3 separate regions of the Homo sapiens genome follow, and all the other regions are linked to region 3. Evidence: promoter capture Hi-C in 16 types of primary human blood cells and fetal thymus (Javierre and others, 2016). All regions are on one chromosome and are shown on one strand. Each heading gives the region's core, a stretch centred on a gene start or on the middle of the fragment in contact. The rest is flanking DNA. Distances are from core to core; before and after follow the strand shown. Region 1 overlaps ARHGEF10 (Rho guanine nucleotide exchange factor 10). Region 2 overlaps ARHGEF10 (Rho guanine nucleotide exchange factor 10). Region 3 holds the start of KBTBD11 (kelch repeat and BTB domain containing 11).

Region 1 (4,950 bases), core at 2,236-4,735, 76 kb before region 3:
GGCTGAGGTGGGAGGATGGCTTGAGCCCAGGAGTTTGAGGCTGCAGTGAGCCATGATCGCACCACTGCGCTGCACCCTGGACAACAAAACAAGACCCAGGCTCTGAAAAAGAAAAGTCTGAACTGTCTTTGCTCATTTTGTCTTAGCAATATGAGAAGCCGCTGTCTGAGATGGAGCCAAAGGTTCTGAGTGAGAGGAAGCTGAAGACGGTGTTCTACCGAGTCAAAGAGATCCTGCAGTGCCACTCGCTATTTCAGATCGCGCTGGCCAGCCGCGTTTCCGAGTGGGACTCCGTGGAAATGATAGGCGATGTCTTCGTGGCTTCGGTAATTAAGCTGGGACACCTGGATGTCCATGGGGCTCTCCATGCACCTGTCCTCTCTTCCCTTCTTAGGCTGATGTTTTGCCCCTGATCTCCTGCAAGCTGACAAGTGTGCAGTTCTCTCTAAAGGCCAGGCTGAAGTTGCAATGCCCTGGCCAAGCGTGTGCGCTAGGGAAATGATAAATGGATCTTTACCAGGGAGGCCAAGGCGTTAGAAAGGCAGACACTGGACAGAAGCTGTATCTGAGGACATTTAACAATATGCACTTTATCGAGTCTTGGATGCCCCATTAGACGATTTGCTGAAGCTTTTTGTTGTTGAACAAGGATGCCGTGTGTTTGGCAATGTTGTAAAATTGCCGTTTTTAAGCCCTCACACAGGTTCTCTTCCTGATCTAGGTGTCACTTTCTGGGTGCAGAATTATCTGTGCCTGGGAAAAATAGAAAACACGTGATGGGAAAATTCCTAGATGTTTTCTCAAACTTTTGCCCTTGGCTGTAGCTTCTGTTGTGTAGATACAGGCTTTCGGCCCTATGCTGTGACACAGGAATATGATGTTGCAACAGCTTGCCTGAACACTTCCTGGCAGGAGAAAGGGTTAGCTGCCTGGAAACCACTGGTGGTTTCTGCACTGGCAGTTTCGAGTCATTTTATCCTCACTCCGTGTATGAATCATACTTATTGTATATTGGTTGGATTCTACCTAGATGTAGAGGATTATGAGTGAAACAGATTGGTTTCTGTAATTATTTGAGACTATGATGCTATCAAAGGGATATAAGCTTGCAAGTTTTGAAAAAAGTGTTCCTCTTCTTAAATGAATGTTATAATAATAATACGTGAAATGTTTTCCTATATAGTTTGTATATGTACTTGATGAGGTCTATAAATGCTTTGAATAAATATGGAAACAAAATTCTTTCAAAGATATTTGCATAATACCGTTTATGGATCCTTAAAAAAAGAGAAATATTGGATATTTATTTTGTTATTGGATTTTTTTTCTGGCTGTTTTATATATTAGGTTCAACCTTATCACTGTTCTTTAAATACCTACCTTCCCAACATTTTTAAAAATGCAAACAGATTTTTTAAAGAAATAGAATTTTGATGAAAACATTCCTGCTATCAATGCCAGTCACACCAGAGCTCTGCCATCCATCCTAAAGGACTTACGGTTTCTTAGAATAACATGGAGTGATTTTTCTCTCTTTGAATATTGATAGCAAGGGCAAATGTTTCTGCCTCTTAACAGAAACCTTTGTGCTTTTAGGAAAACGAACACGTGTAGGGCATTGTATGTTACGCCAGAGAAGCAGGATCAGCCCCCGCCCCCAGCCCCCATTTCTAGGGTGTGGTTGAGGCCTGTTTCTCAGGATATTGGGCCCACCATGGAATGAGTTGCATGACTTTCTTGCCTGGAGGTTGAACCCACCAAGTGAGACTTGGCAGGAACTTAAAATCACCATCCTTATTTGTCTGTAGTCATGAACATTCTTAACTGAAACCCAAATTACCATGGTTTTGAACAAGGATGTCAGAAAGTGCTCTGGAGTCAAAAAATAAGGTCAAACCAGCAACTTAACTCCTAACACGCTTGCTTAAAGAAAAAAAATCACACAGTCATAATAAAGTTTATCTTATGAAAACATCACAGTGACCGAAAGAGTATTTTGAGGGCGAGTTTCAAATCTTCTGTTTTATGTTGGAAAAGGGATATCTGGACTCTGTGATTTCTCTCTGAATTTCCTCCTGTGTTTCAGTTTTCTAAGTCCATGGTGCTGGATGCATACAGTGAATATGTGAACAATTTCAGCACAGCCGTGGCAGTCCTCAAGAAAACATGTGCCACAAAGCCCGCTTTTCTTGAATTTTTAAAGGTAAGCGCTTTTTTTTTTCATTTGGGTTTTAACACCATCTGATAACAAGTTACATGTCAAAGCTTGACTCTGAATGCAGTTATTCGTTATTAAGATTTCAGTATCAATAGTGCCCTAGATATTGGATTAATGCTAGAAATGAAGATGAATTTTAGGTCCTAATGTAGCTTTTTGAAAACAATTTTATTTGCACCTTCTTAAAAGTGTATCAGCAGACAGACAGAAAGAAAGTTAAAATCAGATCCCCAAAAAAGAAGTCAAGATCAGATCCCAAAGTTACCTTTCCCTCACTGTCCTTCGGTATGGTATTAGGAATCAAATAAACTAAACATCTCAATTCCAGGCCTCTTTGGGATCGGGGAGAGGCACCGGCCTGGAGAGTCAGAGCCTGGAGCGGGCCCTACCCGAGGGGGACGCAGGCTGTGTTCCTCCCAATGCTGAGGACAGCACTGATGGCCTTCCTCAGGGGTCTCTGACCTGGCAGTGATGGGGAGCACGTCCCCTGATGGGTGTGGGTTAGCGTTATTTAATCAGCAGGCAGGCAGGGCTTCCCCAGTCGTGGGATGCGTGTCCGAGGCTGTGTTCTGACAGTTTGCTGCACAATGAACCAAGCTGAAACCCCCTTCAAAGACGTCGGCGGAACTGAGTCTCCTTTGTGGAGCCCCTCATTTGCATGATAAACCCCGGGGACAAAGTGTGTTCTTGTTACTTGGACTGTTTCTTGGAAACTGCTGCTACCTGGAGCGAGTGAACACAGGGCAAGTATTCTCGCCCACAGCAACGTGTCATTGAAGCTGGAATTTTTTCCCTCTGCCTTATCCAGCACGGCGGCTCCTGCTCCTCCTGGAGCACAGTCTGTGGCCCATGGAGGTTTGCTAAGGGATCGGATCGCAGTTCCCACTCTGGACAGCTGTGAGCTCTGTCCTAAGGGATCGGATCGCAGTTCCCCCTCTGGACAGCTGTGGGCTCTGTCCTAAGGGATCGGATCGCAGTTCCCACTCTCGACAGTTGTGGGCTCTGTCCTAAGGGATCGGATCGCAGTTCCCCCTCTGGACAGCTGTGGGCTCTGTCCTAAGGCATCGGATCGCAGTTCCCCCTCTGGACAGCTGTGGGCTCTGTCCTAAGGCATCGGATCGCAGTTCCCACTCTCGACAGTTGTGGGCTCTGTCCTAAGGCATCGGATTGCAGTTCCCACTGTGGACAGTTGTGGCCTCTGTCCTTTGGCTAGGGAACCATCTCTTTCTTTTGGGGAAAGAAAACATGGACTCACTTAAGAGCTCACTCCCTCTGGGGATTTTGCTGTACTCCCATTAAGGATGCCAGCCGTGGCCGTGACCGCAGTGCCCACTCCTCAGCTCGGTGGCTGCCACGTGGCCTTGGGAGATAGACTCTCTCATCCCATTTCATTGCTCCAGGACCTGAGCCCCAAAGAGTCGGGTGCCCTGTGAGCTGAGAGGCCGAGGCACAGCCAGGTCTGTGCTGTCTGCCCTCTCCACTGCACAGCCCCCTCAGCAGAGGGACCTGGAGACTCCCCCCAGGTCAACATTGCCCAACAGCCTTGGTAGCAAATGGCCCCACTGCACATCCCTGATGTGCTCAGGGAGAGGAGCCGTCAGCCTCCAGGACGTCTTTCTGCCCATGGCACCGGAAGAGGTTGCCAGCCTTTTCTGGGGGCCCACTATGGCCAGAACACAGACACCCAAGGACAGCCCCTGGAATCTGCCCAGTCCCCTGGCCCGGGGAATTCACCCCTGGAGCTGAGGCCAACGTGTGAGGTCGGGCCCCTGCAGCAAAGCGGAAGCCCCTAGAGCAGGTGCAGAAAGTGGCTGGAAGGTATTTGGCCAAGTTTCTTCTTGTAGCTGAAGACAAGGTGCAGGCTTTTGACTTTCCCGAGTGTTCAGTGTGGTGGGGAGGAGGCGGCCCCAGGGGCAGGGAGGGCATGGCAGCCCTGCAGGGAGGTGACCCCGGTGCCTTCCCCCACAGCAGGAACAGGAGGCCAGCCCCGATCGAACCACGCTCTACAGCCTGATGATGAAGCCCATCCAGAGGTTCCCACAGTTCATCCTCCTGCTCCAGGTAAGTGCTTCACGGAGACCTCCTCAAGCTAGTCCTCTGGCTCGCCCATGACTCATTTGAAAATGGCGTCTGTTCCTCCACTTTGGAATGGCTGCCCCTCGGGCCTCCTCATCTCCTCTCTAGGCAGTTACAGGAGGTGGAGGGTAGAGGCAGGTGGAGACCTGCGGAGAGTCACCCTACGCCGGGGGCAGCTGTAGGGCCCAGTGCCTGCGAGGCCAGCCTTGGGGGACAGAGGGGATGGGCTGCGGGGAGGGGTGTTGTGGGCCCTGGCCTGCCTCACGTGCTCTCACAGGGCCCCAGCACTGGGGGGCCGCGGGGCTTGGTTATCAGTGGCCCACAGGTCACAGCTCCCTTCTCCAGTGTGTCTGTGTCTGGTCTAGGATCACATGAAAAATGATTCTCGCCTCTGTGCCCAGAGGGGATGGACAAGCTTGGAAAGCTAAGAATAGATTTAAACAAAACATACCCATCACTGATTTAACAGCAAATCACCGAGGACAGGGAGATGCTGCGATGGTGAAAACACTGTCCACTGGACCCTCATTTCTCTAAACTAAGGATTCTCAATTGGATACCTGTGGCTGTGAACAGTAGGCCTGTTCTGAGTGCTGACGTGACGTCTCACAGCGGACGGCCTCTAGGTCACGTCTGATGCAGTGTGTGGTTGCCCG
Region 2 (4,890 bases), core at 455-2,954, 97 kb before region 3:
CCCTCCGCTCTTGGGCACGTGGGTAGGCTCTCAGGATGACTCTTGGCTCTTGGGCATGTGGGTGAGCTCTCAGGATGATGCCCAGCCCCAAATTTCAGGCAATTGTGCAAGGACTTGACCCATTCATCCGCTGAGCTGAGTTGCTGAGACTGCTGGGTGCCCGGGTGGTGATCATTGTCCGTGGCACACAGAACACACTGCAGCTTCTGCAAAGTGAGCTCATTTCACGCATTTTATGGCTTTGCCAGGCTGCTGTTGACCTGCCAGAACTTTTAATCAGACATTTGGAGGACCTGTTTTGTAGTCAGTGGAGAAATATTACAAGGATAGGGTAATTTGAAATATCTAAGGATTGTAAGTGACAAGTTCATGTCTAATTTTGCATTTCCAGTGAAAGCAAGTGTTGGCTTTGAATGTTACTTATGTGCTGAGATGTGTATATTCCTCAGTGCTTAATTACTAAGGATTTTTAAGGCCAAGTTTTGTTACAGTGAATGACTGTGGATGCATAAAGAATAAATTTAATATTTTTAAGGCATGGAGATTATTTGTATCTAAGAAACCAGGTAAAATAAAGAAACATTTATGCTTGTGTGACTGATAAAAGAGTTAGAGAGACACTCATATTCTGGGAGTTTGAAGAATGTCATTTTCATTCTCTAAAAGTCTTGTTAGTGTCACAGCATTGAAAATTTAAAAATCCGTGTGTATTTTCTTGCTAGTGCTGGTACTTGAATATCTGTATCATCCACCTATCCATCCACCTACCCATATTTCTATAATCCACCGTCCATCGACATGCCTATCATCTGTCCACCATTTCTCTCTGTCTAATTTTCAAAACATCCTGTAAGTTTATATAAAGGAAGATTTTTCTTCTTGTGAAGTTCTCTAAGGCTGACAAGTTACCTGGCATGACTGTGGCGGATGCCCATAGCCAGGTGGTCCTCGGGGTACAGATGGGGCAGGGGCACTTGTGAGAAACACCTGAAGTGCTTTTCCCCAGCCTCCCCGGCCCTGCCCGGGTGGTGGAGGCGCTGCACGGTGCCTTCCATGGAGCAAGCCCGGGGCTCCGCAGGGTCCTCAGCATGATTCAGATTTCCTTCCACCCCCAGCTCTAGATGATTTGGTAAAACCACAAACAGGCACAAAACAGCCCACATGGAATTCTAAAGTTTTAATTTCATTTTGGAATTTATGCACTCAGATGAAATGATTTATGATGATGTTGAGAATGGGGATGAAGGTGGAAACAGCTCCTTGGAATACGGATGGAGTTCGAGTGAATTTGAAAGTTACGAAGAGCAGAGTGACTCGGAGTGCAAGAATGGGATTCCCAGGTCCTTCCTGCGCAGCAACCACAAAAAGCAAGTACGTGTTCCCTGCACATGTGAGGGATGGTTCTCTCGCGTTAACACGGACAGGGGGCTGTGAATATGATTGTGATCCACCTAGTACTTCATAGTGATTTGTTAAGATGCTGATAAGTAGTTTGGGGAAAGCATAAGATATTGGCAAAGGAGAAGACGTGTCTTGTTTCATATAGTTAAGTATCGTCATGGAAAGATGGAGAAATTAAGCTTCTATAATCCACTTAAAAGGTCTTAAATGAGCTCACCACCTTGAATAAGAAAGTAGTTATTCTCTGAATTGCTTGTGTTTTAATGTATTATGTGCTTTGCACGTAGCACCGTTTGCGGAACACTGAATAGATGGGATCGGGGTTCCCTAAGACACAGCACATCTGCACTTTGCTTTAAGTGAGGTTTCAACTTTAGCATGTTCAGCATGAAAAGGAAGACGTAAAAATAGAAGATGTTAAGGGACAAAAGCTTCTAAACTGACCTGTGACAATCCTTTCTTTTTTCTTTTTCTTTTTTTTGAGATGGAGTCTCGTTCTGTCTCCCAGGCTGGAGTGCAATGGCGCAATCTCAGCTCACTGCAATCTCTGCCTCCCAGGTTTAAGCCATTCTCTTGCCTCAGCCTCCCAAGTAGCTGGGATTACAGGTGCCTGCCATGACTCCTAGCTAATTTTCGTATTTTTATTAGAGATGGGGTTTCCCTATGTTGGCCAGGCTAGTCTCGAATCCCTGACCTCAGGTGATCTGCCCACCTCGGCCTCCCAAAGTGCTGGGATTGCAGGTGTGAACCACCACACCCAGCCGGATGATCCTTTCTTACAGGGAATTTTTATTTTACTTTTTTTGTGGAAAAGTCTTGAGATTAGGGTGTGAGGTGGGATGTCAGAGCTGTAAGGCGTGAATTCTGGAATTGGGTGGTTGTGAGTCATGGAACCCAGGAACCATTCAGCTGAGGCACCTCCCAGGTCTCGGTGGTGCCAGGCCGTGCCACCGGTGTTTTGTTAGAGTTTTTTTTGACTGTTTGTAAAAGGATAGATTTGTGCTCATCTACAGTGATGTCTGTGTACTTTCTGTGTGAGGCTGAGATGGAAGCCACACGCAGTCCTTGTCTGAGGCTGGCGAGTCCCGTGTTACTGATAGAGATGGTGAACGGATGCCCGCCATAGTGACAGTTGTCGATAACCGGTGTTATCCCTCCGGTCCCCTAGTAACCCCCAGTAAGCGGAGATTTCATTCCTGGACCTAGCTGCCACGTCCCTATGGTTTACAAGTGATTATGGGCTGCCTACAATTCTCATATTCTGTGAACCTGGCTCGTGAAACTCAAGGAGAATCTACTAGATCTTGGCAGTCAGCTCACCTACCCAGTTTCATTCACAAGTTCTTCCAGGAATTAGATCTTTTCTGCCACCGTCATCATTACAACTGCGATTTAAACAACCGATGAAGCTGCAATTGTAGTTTTTCGGGTTTTTTTTTTCTTTGAAATGGAGTCTTGCCTGTCGCTCAGGCTGAAGTACAATGGCGTGATCTCGGCTCACTGCAACCTCCACTTCCCAGATTCAAGTAATTCTCCTGCCTCAGCCTCTCAAGTAGCTGGGATTATAGGCACCTTCCACTACCAGCTAATTTTTGTATTTTTAGTAGAGACGGGGTTTCACCATATTGGCCAGGCTGGTCTCGAACTCCTGACCTCGTGATCTGCCTGCCTCAGCCCTCCAAAGTGCTGGGATTACAGGCATGAGCCACTGCACCCGGCCTGCAATTGTAGTTTTTAACAGCTGATAACTGAGGTGATATTTCGCTTGCTGTAGCTGAGTCAGACACTTGATTTAAACTGAGATTTAAGAAGAGTGCTGGGCTCTGACATCACAGATGGAGGCTCGGTGTGTGCCTCGGAGCGTGGGTTAAATGCTCTTCAGTTTCGCCTTCATGGTGGGCTGTGGACAGAGGGGCCAGGCCACTGAGGAGCCGAGAGGCATTAGTAGTCACTCCTTGGTAGTAATTCAGGAGACCCTGCCCTTGCTTTGGAGCGGGCCCGTATCCCAGAGGAGCCCTTGACTGTCTGGGCAGTGCCAGTGGTTCAGCAGCCCTCCCTGCTGGGCGAAGGAGCTGGGGAAAGCCAGCACACAGTGGGTTTGTGGTGCAGAATTACAACCCGGGAGCGCTGGGCTCTGCATTTCCAGCCTCTCCTACACGTCCATGTTGCCAGGACAGTGGCCTGGACCGGGGGTGGGAATACTGTGTGGGGTGCAGACAGGGCGCCCGTGTGTTAGGCCTGTCCAGGATGGAAGTGCTGCAGGCAGCACCAAGTTTTCTCGTTCAAAGGGTCACATTTTAAAAACGACCAAAATAAAACTATATGTTGTTCAAAAGTCATCTCAAAAAATCTCGAATTTTGTTAAAAACTTCCTAAAGTGTCTGTGACATGAGAAATGCCCCGAGACGAGCCAGTGGGGCCTCAGCCACGTGCATCTGAAGTGTCTGTGACCACACGGAGAAGGATCCAGGGGGTCCCCAGTCCCGTCAGTTAGAGAGAAAGTGATCTCAGGTTGGAGACCCTTGAAAATCCGTGCTGCCATCCCCAAAATATGTCACTTTCAGTATAGTTTAAATACAAGTATCTTTTGCTTGGATGCCAACATAAAAAATGATTTTATGTATTTTTATTTATTGGATAATTTTTATTCCACCAAAATGTAAACGAATGATTTCACAGATATTTTGTGTGCGTGCATTTGCTCCTGTCTAGCACAGAGAAGACCCTAGCCTGGTGTCTGGATAGTGTCTGTCTTTTGATGCCATGTTTAGCTCATTTCTGCATTTATCTCTCTTTTTTTTTTTTGGAGACAGGGTCTTACTCTGTCTGCCAGGCTGGAGGGCAGTGGCACCATCACGGCTCACTGCAGCCTCCACTTCCCAGGCTCAAGCAATTCGCCCACCTCAGCCTCCTAAGTAGCTAGGATCACAGGCGCGCACCACCCTACCTGGCTAATTTTTGTAATTTTAATAGAGACAGGGTTTCACCACGTTGCCCAGGCTGGTCTTGAACTCCTGAGCTCAATTGATCCTCCCACCTCCGCCTCCTAAAGTGCTGGGATTACAGGGGTGAGCCACTGCGCCCAGCCAACTATTTGTGCATTTATCTCTCAAGGACCAACTGGGCTAGTAATGGGGACTCTCGCGTGTGGTCCCAGAAGCCCCCAGCCAGGACAGGCCTGATGTGCCACTGCAGACGCTGCCAGCATCCTCTCAATGTAAAATTGTCCCAAAGAACCAAAAAGAGCCTTTTTGTGAAAAGACTGTGTCTCTTTATGCTGTAGCTTTCTCATGACCTAACCCGTTTAAAGGAGCACTATGAGAAAAAGATGAGAGATTTGATGGCAAGCACGGTGGGCGTGGTGGAGATTCAGCAGCTCAGGCAGAAGCATGAACTGAAGGTAGAGTCTTGCCCCCGGCCGCTGCCCCCACTTGCCAGCCGGGCAGTAAAGAAAAACCGCGCGGCTCGGTCGGTCCTTGCTGTCTCAAC
Region 3 (4,666 bases), core at 653-3,152:
GAAATATTTGCATGCTTCGAGTCTACCATGCATGATCAGGCTGTCCCTGACCAGGGGAAAATTTACATAGTAAAATAGTATTACCCTTGAAATAGATTTAAGATAGGTCCTCCTTTTTCTTGACAGTATTACAACCCAGTTCAATTTCAGGAACTCTAGAGGTCCCTGCAGTTATGAAGAACTAATTAAAGGCATGAAATGTTCCTCTGCAAGTTTCATTGACCATATTGGGCCTACAGTCCATTTCCAAATAAATATCTAAGGTAAGAAAAATATGGGACTCCCCACAGACTACTTATCTACCAGATGGTGTGGGGTTTGGATGGATGTTTTCAGTTACTTCAGCAATTTTTTCATTAATTCAGTATTTATTGAGAACCTAATGTATGCCAAGCTTGTAAAATGCAGTGGGGGGTATGACCTATTCCCAGGTCTCTGGACTCTGGCAGAATGGTAGAGAAGATGCTGTCGGGCTTGCATGTTCAGAACACCGTGTCTTAGGTGACCTCCCGGGCCTTTGGAGGCCCAACCCCAGGGTGGCGGGATAGCCAGGTGAGGCTTTGTTTGGCCTGTTCACGTTTCTCTGGAAAAGAATGGGGGTAGTTAGGCCAGGCGCGGTGGCTCATGCCTGTAATCCCAGCACTTTGGGAGGCCAAGACAGGTGGATCACTTGAGGTCAGGAGATCGAGACCAGCCTGGCCAATGTACAGTGAAACCCTGTCTCTACTAAAAATACAAAATTTAGCTGGGTGTGGTGGTGCATGCCTGTAGTCACAGCTACTTGGGAGGCTGAGGCAGGAGAATTGCTTGAACCCAGGACGCAGAGATCGCAGTGAGCCGAGATTGCACCACTGCATTCCAGCCTGGGCGACAGAGTGAGACTCCATCTCTAAAAAAAAACAAAAGAGAAAAAGAAGTATTATTCTGCAGCCGAAAGGAAGTAGAGATGCACTAAGAAGATCACAGTAGAGTTTGGAACATTTTTGGAGTAAACTGAACAAAATAAAAACGGAGCAGCATGGGAATTATTTTAGCTTCCACCAAAAGGGTCTGTTTCTGCTATAGTTAACGGAAGTTTTCAATTTTCAAAAAATCCCAGTAGCTCGCTGAGTTTCAGCCTCCTGTAATTCAAGTACTGACAGCAGGTACTACTCTTCTTGGCAACAGAGTGAAAAAGGTTTTAAAGATGTTCCCGGGGCGTTAGCTTTGGTGCTGGAGTTGTAACGGCTCATTATGTGTATACAGCATGGAACTGGCAAAGACTGTCACAAGCAAAAAGAACACAAAAAGAGAAAGTAAAGGCTCTGGCTCTCGGTACTTATGGAAATCTCATCGTCATTAATTTGCACAAAGCCATTAAAAATAGCATTTACCAGCAGGGGTCCAGCGTTAATTAGAACCCAGCCTGGGAGCAGCTGGAACTCTCGGCGCTCCTGGCTCAGTCCTCGCCGCCCTGAACCCGTCTGCACCGCAGGGCCCGAGTGGGAGGCAGAGGCCACATTTCTGGATATGAGCAAAAGCTCCGACATTTCGTCCACTCTCGTGTTGTGAACTTTAAAAAATTCTGGAATCTGTTGAGAATTTGGCAATAAGTTTTTAACCACTAAATATGTCAACAACGCATCGCCTCTACTTTTACCAAAAAATAGGCGCACGAAACTCCGCTGTTTGCGCCCGCGGACACCTGTCCCCGCCTCCTCGCAGGAAGCGGCCCCCGCGCGTGGGCGCGGGCTCGGGCTCGGGCTCGAGTGGCGACGTGGGCCGCGGTCCTGGAGGGGGAGAAGCGCCCGGCGGGCAGGCGCGGGGCAGGGAAGCCCCGGGGAACCCACAGCCCCTCCGCAGACCCAGCCAGGGGGCGCGCGCCCGAAAACGCCCCGTGTGCACGCGCCCGCCCCCCTCCCCGCGCCCCGCGCGCGCCCCTCGCAGCCTGGAGCCGGAGCGCTGGCTCCGCGCGGCCTGGAGAGGCGGAGAGGCCTGTCCACCGCCCCCTCTGCCGCCCACGCCCCGCTGCGGGTCGGAGGAGCAGCTCCCGCTCGCAGGTGCTCGGAGAGGCCGGGCCGCGGCTCCCACAGGTGCCGGGAAGCGGCCGCGCGCATGCGCCGGAGCCCACCCGCCTGGCTGCGCGTCCCGGGCCCGGCGGCTGAAGAGGAGCCGCGGCGAGGTAGGGCGGACCCCGGGGAGGCAGCGGCGGGGCCTGGCGGGCGGAGCGGGAAGCAGCCCGAGGCGCGGGTCGGAGGGGGCGGCGGGTGGGAGGTGGTCGGCGAGAGCGGCAGTAGGCGGGAGGGGAGAAAAGGGGAGGCCGGCAGGGGAGAGGCGGGGAGGGGAGGCCGGCAGGGGAGGGAGGGGAGCGGAGCGGAGGGGAGGGGAGGGGGGACCGGGAGAGGAGGGGGCAGCGCTGCCCGCGGCGGGGTGGGCGGCGGTGGGTGGTCTCCGCTCCGCCTCCGGGAGGCCGCGTGGGGGGCGTGGGGGCCTCCTCGCGGGGTCTCCACAGGCCCTCCCCCGGGACGCGGCAACCCCGGCCGGAAGACAATGAGCCGCCCGCGCCGCGCCCGCAGTCACCGCCCCCGCCGAGGGTCCCGCCGCCCCAGCCGGCACGGAAGCAGGAGCAGAAGCCGAAGCCAAGCGCGCGGGGCCAGGGCGGGGGCTCCTCCCGGGGTTGCTCCGCTTGGCTCTCGGCGGTCGCGGGGATCGGCTGTCCGGAGCGAACGGGGGTCTCTCCTGGACTCGGGGCCCTGGGGAGGGGAGCGCGGCCCTTGGTCCTCCGCCGCTGCGCCCGGGGTGCGGGGGTGTCCTGGCTGCTGACCCCCGCGAGCCCCGAGCACCGCGACCCACCCGCCCCACCGCGCCGCGGCTCCCGAGTCCTGCCGGGCGCCCCTTGCAGCCCCCGCCCCATGTGCTGGGGAGACCCCCGGGCGGTCTGGGCGGGATTCCGCAGGGGTCCCTCCTCTCAGGCGGGGCTCATTCTGGAGCATGAAAAGAGGGTGAACCAAAGTCCCTCCACCTCTTTAGAGTCCTACAAAACCACGTTTCCCCCTCCACCCACTCCAGTGTCTATTCTAAGGAAAAGAAAAGGAACAAATCAGTGCAGCGAGCTTTATTCTACTCAGCCCACGAAAGGCGCCGCCGTCAGATTTTAAAGTTCCAGCCATCCCCTCAGGCCCTGAGTGAGAAGTTCGCCCGATTCCCCGCGGTTCCCGCCTCCATTTCCCACTAAGGAGCAGTTACTCAGGCTCCAATTAGGACCCCTTAATGGATGTCAATGGAACCCTTCAGCCTTTTATCCTGAGCTAATAGTGTGCTATTATTAGAATAATCCTCCCCATTCCTGACATCACGGAAGGGAGCGTTCCATTGCCTTCAGATTTGCTCCAGCAACAACCTCGTGTGTGCAGATTTATGGTAACTGGCATTGCAATGCTCCCATCAGGGCATAACTAAGTAAAAATTGTAATGAGGTAAAGCCTTTGAACTTTCCATGTCAGTTGCACAGGCATTGCTGGCCATAGCATTGGACAGCACATAATAAAATCAGTTAAAAGATGTTGCTTACATTATAGTGATGTGTAGCACAGCCACGTTCGGATCAATTACAGACCGCCAAGTTGACGGTGGTCCTGTAAGATTATAAAACTGTTTTCCCTGTGTCTTTTTCATGCTTAGAAATGTGTAGATACACAAACACCATTGTGTTACAATTGCCTGCGGTATTGTGCACGCTGCACAGGTGTGCAGTCTGGAGCAGGAGTCTGTGCAGTGGAGCACAGGTGTGTAGCAGGCTGCACCGCCTAGGTGTGTAGGTGCCCTGTGTGATGTTTGCACAGTGATGAAGTTATCTAACTATCATTTCTCAGAACCTGTCTGCATCTGAACCATTCGTGACTGTATTTAAGCCAGCATTGGGCTTGGGAGGAGGGGAGAAAGCTTAAATGTTGTGGCTCTGAGACTAAAGAAATTCCCAGGGAGCAGGACTCTGTGTTGACTGATGTCTGGGCCTAACTTGAACCTCAGAGCACCTTGCTCTGGGTGGATGGAAGAATCCGGAAAGGTGGTTTGGAGCTTATCGCATCATTTGTAAACTCCAATACAAACCCGCTTCAATGGGGTTTCCATATGTTCCGGTACAGGTAGCAACCTTGGCAGTGGGAGCCCAGCAGGTCCCGTCTTTGTCCCTGTGCTGATACAGAGAGACTCTCCGTGCTGTGGACGCCTCCATCTGGGCACATGTTTCAGTTGTTTTCTAAATACCAAGAGCACAGATTGCTCAGTAATAATAGCTCTCCTGCAAATCTGGAATCACTTAGGCAGCTGCAGTGCCTCTAAGCCTCCTTGCATCCAAGGCTGTGATCAAGGAGGACTGGTGTCTGAGTGGGCTTGAGAAGGGCCCGGAGAACAGCGGGTTTCCTGATCACAAATCAGCCTGTCATTCAGCATGTGTTCCCTTGGTGACTCAGGGCGATATCTGCCCTTCTCCGGAGGTCAAGGGCTCATCGTGTCAATTGTGGTCTTGAGTTTGTTTTTTTTTTCCTCTTGAAATCATTGTAATTAAGCTAAAAGTATAGTGTTGGTATCCAGCACATGTTTGCAAAGTATTTAACAATGAGCAAAAACTTTAAGAATAAATTAAAGCATCTAGTTTACTTTTTGCCAACAGCCAGGTTCCTGCTAG

The links. The method cuts DNA at HindIII sites, captures the fragments that hold promoters and counts their contacts. A CHiCAGO score of 5 or more calls a contact.
Region 1: a contact is called between a fragment that was not itself captured here and the fragment with the promoter of KBTBD11 in region 3, in 1 of 17 cell types (monocytes). The highest score is 5.4, in monocytes.
Region 2: a contact is called between a fragment that was not itself captured here and the fragment with the promoter of KBTBD11 in region 3, in 1 of 17 cell types (neutrophils). The highest score is 5.1, in neutrophils.

What each region holds. Positions count from the first base shown.
Region 1 is chr8:1,894,247-1,899,196 of GRCh38, forward strand. It overlaps ARHGEF10 (Rho guanine nucleotide exchange factor 10), which reads left to right. Exons shown (of 29, transcript NM_014629.4): 13 at 147-326; 14 at 2,087-2,203; 15 at 4,187-4,279. Among named protein-coding and RNA genes, the nearest start is that of ARHGEF10, 73 kb to the left of the region's middle. RefSeq lists a silencer at 3,157-3,451. The HindIII fragment of the contact is 2,444 bases long and covers 2,264-4,707 here.
Region 2 is chr8:1,875,364-1,880,253 of GRCh38, forward strand. It overlaps ARHGEF10 (Rho guanine nucleotide exchange factor 10), which reads left to right. Exons shown (of 29, transcript NM_014629.4): 8 at 1,208-1,371; 9 at 4,685-4,801. Among named protein-coding and RNA genes, the nearest start is that of ARHGEF10, 54 kb to the left of the region's middle. The HindIII fragment of the contact is 252 bases long and covers 1,579-1,830 here.
Region 3 is chr8:1,971,775-1,976,440 of GRCh38, forward strand. It overlaps KBTBD11 (kelch repeat and BTB domain containing 11), which reads left to right and starts at 1,903. Exons shown (of 2, transcript NM_014867.3): 1 at 1,903-2,161. KBTBD11-AS1 (KBTBD11 antisense RNA 1) reads right to left here and starts at 1,571. Exons shown (of 3, transcript NR_136275.1): 1 at 1,374-1,571; 2 at 766-889; 3 at 1-583. It overlaps KBTBD11-OT1 (KBTBD11 overlapping transcript 1), which reads left to right. Exons shown (of 3, transcript NR_126346.1): 2 at 151-263; 3 at 4,125-4,666. The HindIII fragment of the contact is 3,527 bases long and covers 393-3,919 here.